Linked DNA regions of Homo sapiens: regions 2 and 3 are each linked to region 1. Evidence: promoter capture Hi-C in human tissues and cell types (Jung and others, 2019). All regions are on one chromosome and are shown on one strand. The core of a region is centred on a gene start or on the middle of the fragment in contact, and the rest is flanking DNA. Distances in the headings are between cores, read along the strand shown. Region 1 holds the start of GALNT18 (polypeptide N-acetylgalactosaminyltransferase 18). Region 2 overlaps GALNT18 (polypeptide N-acetylgalactosaminyltransferase 18). Region 3 overlaps GALNT18 (polypeptide N-acetylgalactosaminyltransferase 18).

Region 1 (3,326 bases), core at 657-3,156:
AGACATCCACGTGTAAACAAAAGGGAGTGCTCCTGGCGGGGGGGTGGGGGGTAAGCCTTCAGTTCAATTCGATTTTGCCAAGGTCTGCCATGCACTGGCCCCTGAGCCTGGTGGGCCTGCTAGGTTTACAGGGGAACCAAGCTCGGCCCTGCCCTTAAGAAGCTCACACACCTGGAAGAAAGCAGGGGGCGCGGGGAGGGGAGGAAGTGTGGACGTGAGCGCGCGCGCGCGCGCGTGTGTGTGTGTGTGTGCACACCCGGCACCAGTGCTCCTGGCGCCCGGAACTCCATTCCCTCCCATGACAGCTCATTGACCAGGTCGCCTCGGGAGAGCGCCCTGCAACCCCCACCCTCCCTTTGGACCCCCGCGCTGGTCTGGAGCGCACCCAACCAGCGTAACCTTACACTTCAGACCCAACCCAGGTCTGCTCAGCCCCGGCTGCTCCCAGGGCCTGAGAGTGGAGCTACAGTAGGGATCGGCCTTCACCCGGTCCCGGGCGGCTCCGCGGGGAAGGCGCAGCCCAGGGCGTGTTCTTCCAGTCTTGGGCGGAGTCATCACCACAGTGGACAGAGACTCCAGCGCTACTTCCCGGCGTTGACACCTGCTCCTGGAGAGGGTCCTGGACCCGCGGGCTGTGGTGGGGGTAGGGACTGCTATAGGTTCAAGCGGCTTTTCAACCACAGAGGGCTCCTTGCATTCCCTATCGCCTACCAACGGGATCACAGCAAGACTGGGGCTGGGGCTGATACAACGCAATTTTCCTAGCCTCGCTTGTCCGGCAGCCTGCGGGTCTTAACTGCCAATAGTCAGGGCCGCCGCGCGGGCATCTCGCCTGACGCCTACAGTGGCCAAAAAAGCTCGTTTGCCCGCGCGTTCCCTCTTGTACACACACAGACATTCACATGCACACACACTCTGAGCCGGACTTGTGTGCGATCCCGAGAGCCCGCGAGCAACCAGCCCAGAGTCACACGCACATTTGGACACGTGCGCAGCGCGCCCCCATACCGCCAGCTAGCTGCACACATCCGCTCGTGCAGCCCTGCGCACACACGTGTGCCCCGGGGAAGAGCGCACGGCCGCAGACAGAAGGTCCCGAACGCAGGCAGGAGCTCACACGCAGGCCCCACGACTACCACGCATCTGCGGCCCCAGAGCCCCGCCGTGGCTGAGTTGATGCGCACCAGCCCCAGCGCACCCCGCGCCGCGCGGGGCACTCCCGGGCCTCATGGGCGACCCAAGTTTCCGGGGCGCCCGTACCTTGAATGTGCTGCTTGATGACATTCTCCAGGTGGTCCAGCCGCTCAATAATCTTCAGAGTGTCCCCTTTGTCTTCCTCCAGCTTCTTGTCGGGCGCCGGCTCCTGCCCCCGCACATACACGCTGGCGATGTAGTTGGTGACCCAGCCCACGTAGAGCAGGCAGATGATGTTAGTCATGCCGCTCAGGATCACGCAAGTGGACACCAAAGTTTTGGTCTTCCTGGTGCACACCATTCTGGGCTCCTTCCTCCATATAGAGCTCCCGGGGGCCCTTCCTTGTCGTGCGCCCCGAACTCCCCCGCGCTCGCACCCCGTAGCACGTCCGGAGCCGCTGGGCACCTCAGCACCTGAGTCCCGAGGTTCTCCAAAGCCCGGTCCGCTGCCGGTGTAGCCGCCGTGCCCAAGTTTGCAGCTCCTGCCGCTGGCCACCCGGAGAGACCTTGACAAAGGAAACCAGGTGGATTTTTTTCCAAATTAAAAATCCCTGAACCCTTCCTAGAGGGGTCACGGGTAGCCGGCAGCCGCGCGTCCAGATGTGTACGTCTGGGAAACTTTGCCACTGCCTGTGTCGGCGGCCACGCCGCTTCCCATCGCCAGCGCCGGCTGCCTTGGCGGTCCGACCGGCCCGCGCTGCTAGGAGAACAGCGGCAGCGGCAGCGGCGGCGGGGAGAGCCGCGAAGCAGAGCGGCCCGGCCCCCTCCGAGCGACAAGCGCTGCCACCAATCGCGCTCCGGCTCGGGAGAGGGGCCGGTGCTGAGCGGCAGCGGACCAACGGGGAGGGAGCGGGGGGCGGAGTCCAGCTCCCAGGCCCCACCTGCTGGCCGCCCCTGGCTCCCGCCCCCAGGGACGCGCCCGGGCCTCCACCCGCGCCTGCACAGGCTGCCCCAGACCTGAAGCTCCCGGAGAGGGCGCGCTGCCAGTCCCAGCCCTTAGGTCGGCAGCTTCCTCCGTTAGGGGAATTCCATCTCTTGCTCTTGGGCAGGAATCTCCTGGTTTTGTGGAGGGGGTGGGGGGTTCGCACGGGTCAGCTTCTTTCATCCGCCCGGGGCTTCTCGCATTGGTGCCACCAGTCGACTCCTGGAATCTTTTCTTGGTTGCCAGGACGCTGAGAAGCCAAGGAAGTGCCAGCCCCAGCGGCATCCACTCCTTCCTTGGCCTCACTTGGGCCTCCACCCTGCCCTCTGCCCTTCAGCCACCGGCCTCCTGAGTGTGTCCAGACCTGGCCCTAAACCTGGCTGAAAGGAGCCAACCCTCCGGCAACCTCCCAGAAGCAACATTGGTGACCTATTAGATGACTCTCTCGACCACTTCTTCCCCCCCCCCACCCCCCACCCCCCACCCCCACCGCCTGCCCCAATTTTTGCCCCTATCTAGGTTTTTCTTTAAGTCTGTACAGCTCCCAGGACATGGATGTGTCCTTTAAGCCCAGTTTTCATTTATGTGGAACCAGGGTCATCCAGTGCATAAAGAAACCCTGCAAGGAAGTGCCGCTGAGGGGAACTGAGGTCTGTGAACTGTAAAGCCCTTCTACATGTTGTTTATGATTGCTATCATAGAGGGCGGTGGGAGAGACCTGTGACTGAGCACAGGAGGAGGCCAGACGCAGACAGTGATACTGCTGTGTTTGTTCTTACTGCCAATGTTTACTCATATTATCCTCTTCTGCTGAACACCCCGTTCTCAGCACCTGAACGGAATTCCTTTAAACAAAGACTTTTTACAACATAGATTTCCTGCCTCTTCTCCATCTCTGAGTTGCTTTATTTTTTTGGCCTAAGCCAGGGAGGCAGCCTGCTGCATGCCCACTTTGTTGTGTGCCAGCCTTCCAACCAGCCACAGAAATACTCAGGGCAGCTCCATCCTGGGATATCTTCTGGATTCAAATGACTGGCCCCACAAGAGAGGGAGAGCACAAAACCAAAGAAAGGGCACTTTATGGCCCCATCAGCCAAGGGCCCTTCTACCAATGCTTTGTTTACAAAACCTCCCCAAAGATGCTATGAAAACAGATACCAACTAGGGACCCGGGAAGATTTCCCTTGATCCATAGCTGGAAGAGAGAACA
Region 2 (3,346 bases), core at 682-3,181, 95 kb before region 1:
ACTCACACAGTCTCCAACTTTAATGTGAGCATAGAAATAAGTGTTTCTTATTCTAAGTCACTGATTTGGGGGCGGGAAGCTGTTTGTTACAATAAAACAGACTGATACACATTTATGGAGAACCAGTCCATACCATTGTCTAGTGAACAAACGAAATGTATAAGTAAATAGGACTCAGTCTCTGCCTTCACGACATTTGTCTGTGTCATTCTTGAATCATAGCTGGCAGAGAGTGGAAGTGTTTTAAGGGAAGCATAAACACAAGCTCTGAGAAGCAATAGGAAAGGAGAGAGAGATTCTGTCTGGGGTTTCCAGGAGGCTCCCAGAGGATGCAAAACTCAGACTGGATCTTGAAGACTAAGTCCAGGGTTATCAGAGAAGGTTGAAGAGAAAGGAGGGGATTTCATGCAGAAAAACCAATATACAAATTCAGAGAGGTGCAAGAAAAAAAATACATATATATGCATGAATACATTCTGGTGTTGCCGGAATATAGACAGGGTGGGGAGGAGGAGAGGTAGGAAAAACAACGAAATGGAGGAGATTTCGAAAGGCCCAGAATGCCATCCTAGCAATTTAAACATCACTCTCAAGGAAACGCGAATGACTGAAAGTTTCCACTGGATCCTTACCTTCTAGGGTAATAGAAATATTACCCTAGAAGTGGTAGAATGGAGGTGAATGAGAAGCAGGGAGCTCAATGAATAAGAAAGACTGTTAGATGAAAACCAGTGCCAGATGATAAGGTCCTTATCTGAAACAGCGATAGTAAAAGCAAAAAAGTTCACGAAACATTTCAGTGGCGAAATCGGTAAGACTTGATTGGATGAGGTTGAGACAGGGAAGAATGAGTAATACACAGAATACAGGGCTACTGATTTTATCTAAATGGAGAATGGAGTCAGTTGTGGATATGGAGGAGGTAGGAAGGGGAACAGGTTTGAAGAAAGCTGATGATCTGGTGTTGTGCATATTACTTTTTTTTTTTTTTTTTTTGAGATGGAGTTTCGCTTTTGTTGCCCAGGCTGAAGTTCAATGACACTATCTCAGCTCACCACAACCTCCACCTGCTGGGTTCAAGCAATTCTCCTGCCTCAGCCTCCCGAGTAGCTGGGATTACAGGCGCCCGCCACCACGCCCAGCTAATTTTGTAATTTTAGTAGAGACAGGGTTTCTCCATGTTGGTCAGGCTGGTCTCGAACTCCCAACCTCAGGTGATCCGCCCGCCTCAGTCTCCTAAAGTGCTGGGATTACACTCATGAGCCACCGTGCCCGGCCACGCATATCACATTTGAGGTGTCACTGCAACATGCTAATGGGGGTGACCAGTTGGCAATTGGAAGACACGGAAGAAACTTCCATCTGCCTGGAGTGGGGGAAAGGTATGAGAAAGGCTCCAGAGGCAGTGTAGACATTTGCTGTAAGTATGCTAGGCGTTCTCAGGGACAGGATGTTGGAAGAAAAGAGAGCAATGGCATTTTAGGCAGGCAGTCAGGGATGTATAAAGCCATAAAGGCAGGATGTCATCAGGGAAGACCAGGAAGTTAGATGTGGGTGGAGGGAGGGAAGCCAGTATCGGCTTTTCCATGTAACAATTTCCCGCAAGCCATGGGCCCGGCCATGGATCAAACATTTCTGTGAGTGACAGACTGTTTGTGTGATGGTAGAATAGCACGACTTTGTGAATAAATTCATAGACTCTTACAAGTAGACTCCTGGAGTCTTTGATGTTCCTTTAAAAATGCAGCGCTGGTCCCTTTCTGGCATGTATAGTTACTTCTTTCATTGTCTTTCTGCTATAAAAACCAGAACATATGTAGTTATTCATGGAAGTAATAAATACATCATTCTTTCTTTTAAAAATATATTTCTTTTAAAAATATAGTGTATTTGTCAGGGGAGAGCTGGTTATATTGCAGTAACAAAAACACCCCAAATACCGGTAGCTTATATCACAAAGGCTACATCTCAGGCTACACGTCCATCAGGATCACCTAGGATCTCTGCTCCTGTGTCATCATTGTCACCCTTACATTGGGAAAAGAGCTGCTAGAATACCTGTACCATTGACCATTGAGCATATATTGGCTCTTAAATTTTCCACCTGAAAGTGACATGTCACTTCTGCTCACATTTATTTAGCCAAAATAAGTCACATGGCCAAGTGTGAAATCCAGGGAAAGTGGGGAATATTACTCTCCCGCAGGAGCACAGCAGCTGTCAGTGAACAGCAATCCAGTCGAGTCCACGCCACACTCTAAGATGGACAGGTTCCTCAATGTCTGTGGGAGTCTTGCACCTAGACTATGACAATTATCATCTGATGTGGGTACCCTCTCTTGAAGGAGCCCGACACAGGGAAGATGCTTTCTCATTTATAAATGCATTTCTCCAGGCCTTGACACCAGATTGCCAATGACCTTGGCATTCCTGGCCAGGAATGTTTCCTGTCTAGGTCTGTACTCCCTGCATAGTGATCCTTCCAAAAGTCTTCATTGTCTTGAAGGCACCCCCCAACCCCTGTCCCCTGCCAACTCTGCACTAAGGATGGAGACGAGCAGCATCTGCTTCTGCTTCTACAGTAGCTTTTCTCTGCATGAAGAAAATCTGGCACAGAACCTATGTTTCACTATCTAAGACACTTTTTTGATCAAATGTCCCCATGGTCTGCTGTTGGATTGGGGTGTTTCTTTTTACCCCTGCAGATACTTGTTTGCCTTTCGAGTCTCTGGGCTGATGCAGTCAGCTCATTCCGGTACAAAACAGGGACAATAATTATTATTCTTACGTGGTTCTGCAATTCACAGATTTTTCCTAAGTAAATGTCCACATGAGCTTTATTCTACAGAACTGTAAACAGATGCCACAAAGCAGTGTCTCTGCCACCAAGGTTCACCAATTAGAGGTACCAAGCCATGAGCAATGGCCCATGAAATATTTAAAATTCTTCAAGATTAAATATATATTATACATTTTTAAAACCCTAAGTCTAAATGTATTTATAAAGCCAGATTTTATTTTCCATGTTCTGCTTTCTAGAACAGAGCTCTCTGGGCATAACAAATTCCTCCCCTCAGTCTTGAAGAGCCCATCAAAGCCAGGCATCTGCAATGAGCTGTTTTCTATTCATTGCCTGATGGACATCAATTATTCTCTATTTTCTTAAACTGTGAATAGTAAGAGACTGTTAAACTCAGGCACCCTAGCAGGAGACAAACAGCAGAGGCCCTGCCACTGCCCAAACCACCAATACCTCTAGATGCCAGGCAGGCTGGCAGCTGGATATTTGCTGAGCATTTCTGATATACCAGATACTGTGCTAAGCACTTAGCATGGGTTATCTTAT
Region 3 (3,497 bases), core at 890-3,389, 110 kb before region 1:
CTCCATCAAAAGCCACATAATGTCAGTTTGCCCCATTATTGGTAATTCTAAGTGTGGTCACTTGATTAAGGTGGCATCTGCCATATTTCTCCATCGTAAAAGTACTTCATTCGTTTGTAATTAATAAGTAATGTGTGGGTGTTACTCCAAGGCCATGTGAATATCTGCTTCCCCAAATTGTTGTTGTTTTTTAGTCGCTGCAATTATTGTAATCCCTCCCTTACAGATTCAAGCAGTAATCAGAAGACAGAGGCATGGTCTTCATTCACTTCACTCTCTCTGCAAATCCCATTTGGCACTGGTTAATGATAATGAAGCCTTTGGCACTTTTTTCCTATAGATGCACTTACAGGATAGAACTCCATTTCTAAAATGCATTCCACCAAAGCACAGTGAAAGCAATTACCAATACTCAATTACTCCAGCTTCACTCCATCACTGTAGATACTCTTAAATGCTATGCAAGGGTGGTTTTGAATATCCTGAATGTGGAAATTGGTTTACAATAACAAAGAGAGGCTCAGAAATCTTTGATGGCTCCCAAGAACTACCCGATACAACCCAAACTCCTTATCTGGCACTCAGGCTCAACCAGATCTGGCCCCAGCTCCCACCCCTCTCCCATGACTTCCCTACCTCTCGGACCAAACTGAACTTTTCTCTTCTTCTTCTACACCCCCATGCTTTTCCCTTGCCCATTCTGAATCCTCTGTCTTGAATGCCCTGATTCTCATCTTTCACAAGTGTTTGCTAAAGAAAAGAAAAAAAAAAGCTTCCTCCTTTTCTGACTTCTCTTAATCTGTGACAATTAGGGCCCTTGGTATCTAAATGGCACACTGAGCTTGTTTTCAGAACATCAGTGAAGTTCTAATACCAAAATATTTTTGAAACAATTTGATATCCAAAGAAAGATTTTTTAAACATTTAAGTAGTTATCATGGGAACAATTAGAACTGCTGGAATTGTTTTTATATATTCATAATTTAATATATTTTTATTTTGCATTACATTCAGGAAAGAGGGGAAGGGAGCACTGTGATTCTTAGGACCCAATACATCTTAATCTAGCCTTGGGTGAAAACTCTAAGAACAGAATTGGTGTTATTTCTCCCCTAGCCCCAGGCCTAGCATCATGTGCTATGCATGGTAACTGCTCAATAAGTAGTTACTGAACAATGGAGAGAAAGCTTGGAGTCACATCAATTGTTTGTGCTCCTTTGAAGACGGAATGACTTTCCCCCCTCTCCATGCCTCCAGTCATTTCTCCCTCAGCACATCTCATCAGAAATAAATAGAGGCCTCAGCCCTTTGTGCCTAGCCACTGGCAGAGAGCAGAGGACTGGCCACAGGCCTTTGGCCACATGCTGGCATATCTGAATTCAAGACCTTCACTGCCCTGTGATTAACACATGCGCTACTCCATCCTCTGTGGGAAACTGAAAGATCCTGTTCATGGTGACAATTGGAGAGCAATCTCCCTTCTTTGGCTATATCTGGGGTCACTCCCAGCACCACGCAGAAAGAGTATTTGTATAAGACACAGCATCGGTGGTCACATCCTCTGAGAAGCCTTCTGAGGGCAGGACCTTCCAGCAGAGCACCCAAGGTCCCTGGTTACAGCATCAGAACACTCCAGACACTTCACTATGGCCCAGTGAGTACCAACTACATGCAGATGCTGGCCACAGCATGGAAAACTCAACACAAGGGAAGACTCAGCTGCAGCCCAAAAGGAGCATTACCACCAAGTCACAGAGACCACGCTGATGGATCTGAAGCACCCAAGATTCACACAAGGCAATGTGACATGAAGGGTGTGGAAAGCCTCACAATAGGAAAACCACCTTTAATGGGAGCCCATATTTTGCCTGGCACTAAAGTACACAAACTATTTTAACATCTGCTGTCTCAGTATACTCTCCCAGGGGCCCTGTGAGAAGGGCAGGTCAGAAGCATTAAATATGAAACCAGGTAAAGCTCCCTACCCTGGGTCGTCTCTGTGATAAGGCCTCACCATGTTCCAACCTCTATTCAGGTCACTTCTGCAAACCTTCCATGAGTACAGCTCATTTCCAGGCCTTGTACCAGGCACTGGGCATGCAGAAAGTCCCTTAGAACACAAACTATATGCAAGGCACTCATGCCTTTAGAGATGCATTCCCTGCATTGGTGGTATAGTGGTGAGCATAGCTGCCTTCCAGAGATGCATTTCCTGGGTCTAACCTGGGGCTCAGTGCAAGAAATAGAAATGAAGGTGCCTGCCTTTAAGGAGTTATCCAGCTACTGTGCCACTTTTCACACCACCTTGTGTGACCTGTTGGCCCATCTATCTTTTCTTCTAGGCTGTGATCTTCTCTAGAAAATGGGATCTCTGTGACTCCAGGGCAAATCTCAGGGCTGGGCACATTGCAACATCATTTCAAAGCCAGGCTTCTGTGATAGTGGACAGTCCCAGAGCTCAGCCCTATATATGCATTCGCTGAGCTCCATCCTCAGGCTTTCAGGCTGCAGGCCTTCCTGACCCAGACTTCTGTGTACCACCTCTACATGCCTCTCTGTAGCTCTAACATGAGGATGGTGCCCGGACAGACACAACCGGCACTCTTTCCTCTCGGCGGGGCGTGCAGCTGGTACCGCCTTCCACTTGACTCCTGACAAAGACATGCAGCCTGCCAGGTGATGCAAGAGAGGGCCAGGCTGCAGCTGAAGGCCTTCTCTCCCGGGGGTTGTAAAAACAGGCTGCCCCTCCTTTTGGACTGAATGAGGTTTCTCGCTGTGAATAATGGCATTGAAGTATTCAAGGGCTGCATTCAGGAGCTGAATCATGGAATCCCAGCCAAAGAATCTGCTGAAGACTGAAGGGACCGGCTGTCCAGCTTCACGCAGGGAGGGCTCCTTGAAGCTAATTACTGCCACCAGGCCCTGGTCTCAGACCTTACACACTGGTCTGCAAAGAGCTACAGCTCAAGGTTGCTGTGTCCCCGCAGCCAAGGCTGAAGCATGACCTAGCCAGTCCCCTACAGCTAACAGAGCGACCCCATACATGTGATCCCCAGAATAGGCCCCAGACAATCCTGAGGAGACCTGGCTAATGCAGTGGTTCTTTACTTCTGAGCCACTCACCCCTCAGAAAATCTGAGAAAAGGCTTGGACTATCTCTCCAGAAAATGCATACATGTGCACACTGTGTTATGGAATGAAAGCTTCTGTTTCCACTAAAATTGATAGGTTGGAACCTAATCCCCAGTGTGATGATGTTTGAAGGTAGGGCCTTTGGGAGGTGATTGGATCATAAGGGTGGAGCCCTCATCAATGGTATATTGGTGCCCTTCTAAGAAGAGGCCAGAGAGCTCTCCCAGTCTCTTTTTGCCATGTGAGGATACAATGAGAAGTTGGCAGTAAACAACCCAGAAGAGGGCCCTCACCAGACCCGGACCACACTGGTACCCTGATCTGGGACTTTCAGCCCCCAGAACTATGAAAAATCAATTTCTGTT

What was found. Contacts are between HindIII fragments. The study calls those that stand out against the background at their distance.
Region 2: a contact is called between a fragment that was not itself captured here and the fragment with the promoter of GALNT18 in region 1, in 3 of the 25 tissues and cell types used here (aorta, liver and pancreas).
Region 3: a fragment that was not itself captured here is called in contact with the fragment with the promoter of GALNT18 in region 1 in 6 of the 25 tissues and cell types used here (H1 embryonic stem cells, IMR-90 fibroblasts, bladder and 3 more).

The regions. Positions count from the first base shown.
Region 1 is chr11:11,620,099-11,623,424 of GRCh38, forward strand. GALNT18 (polypeptide N-acetylgalactosaminyltransferase 18) reads right to left here and starts at 1,907. Exons shown (of 11, transcript NM_198516.3): 1 at 1,261-1,907. The coding sequence starts at 1,495. RefSeq lists enhancers at 1-757, 210-349, 1,390-1,439, 1,650-1,729, 1,847-2,347 and 1 more and silencers at 930-999, 1,020-1,099, 1,850-2,209. The HindIII fragment of the contact is 13,654 bases long and covers 1-3,326 here.
Region 2 is chr11:11,524,656-11,528,001 of GRCh38, forward strand. All of the region lies in intron 1 of GALNT18 (polypeptide N-acetylgalactosaminyltransferase 18), which reads right to left. Among named protein-coding and RNA genes, the nearest start is that of GALNT18-AS1, 44 kb to the right of the region's middle. The HindIII fragment of the contact is 9,133 bases long and covers 1-3,346 here.
Region 3 is chr11:11,508,401-11,511,897 of GRCh38, forward strand. All of the region lies in intron 1 of GALNT18 (polypeptide N-acetylgalactosaminyltransferase 18), which reads right to left. Among named protein-coding and RNA genes, the nearest start is that of GALNT18-AS1, 60 kb to the right of the region's middle. RefSeq lists an enhancer at 935-1,436. The HindIII fragment of the contact is 4,338 bases long and covers 1-3,497 here.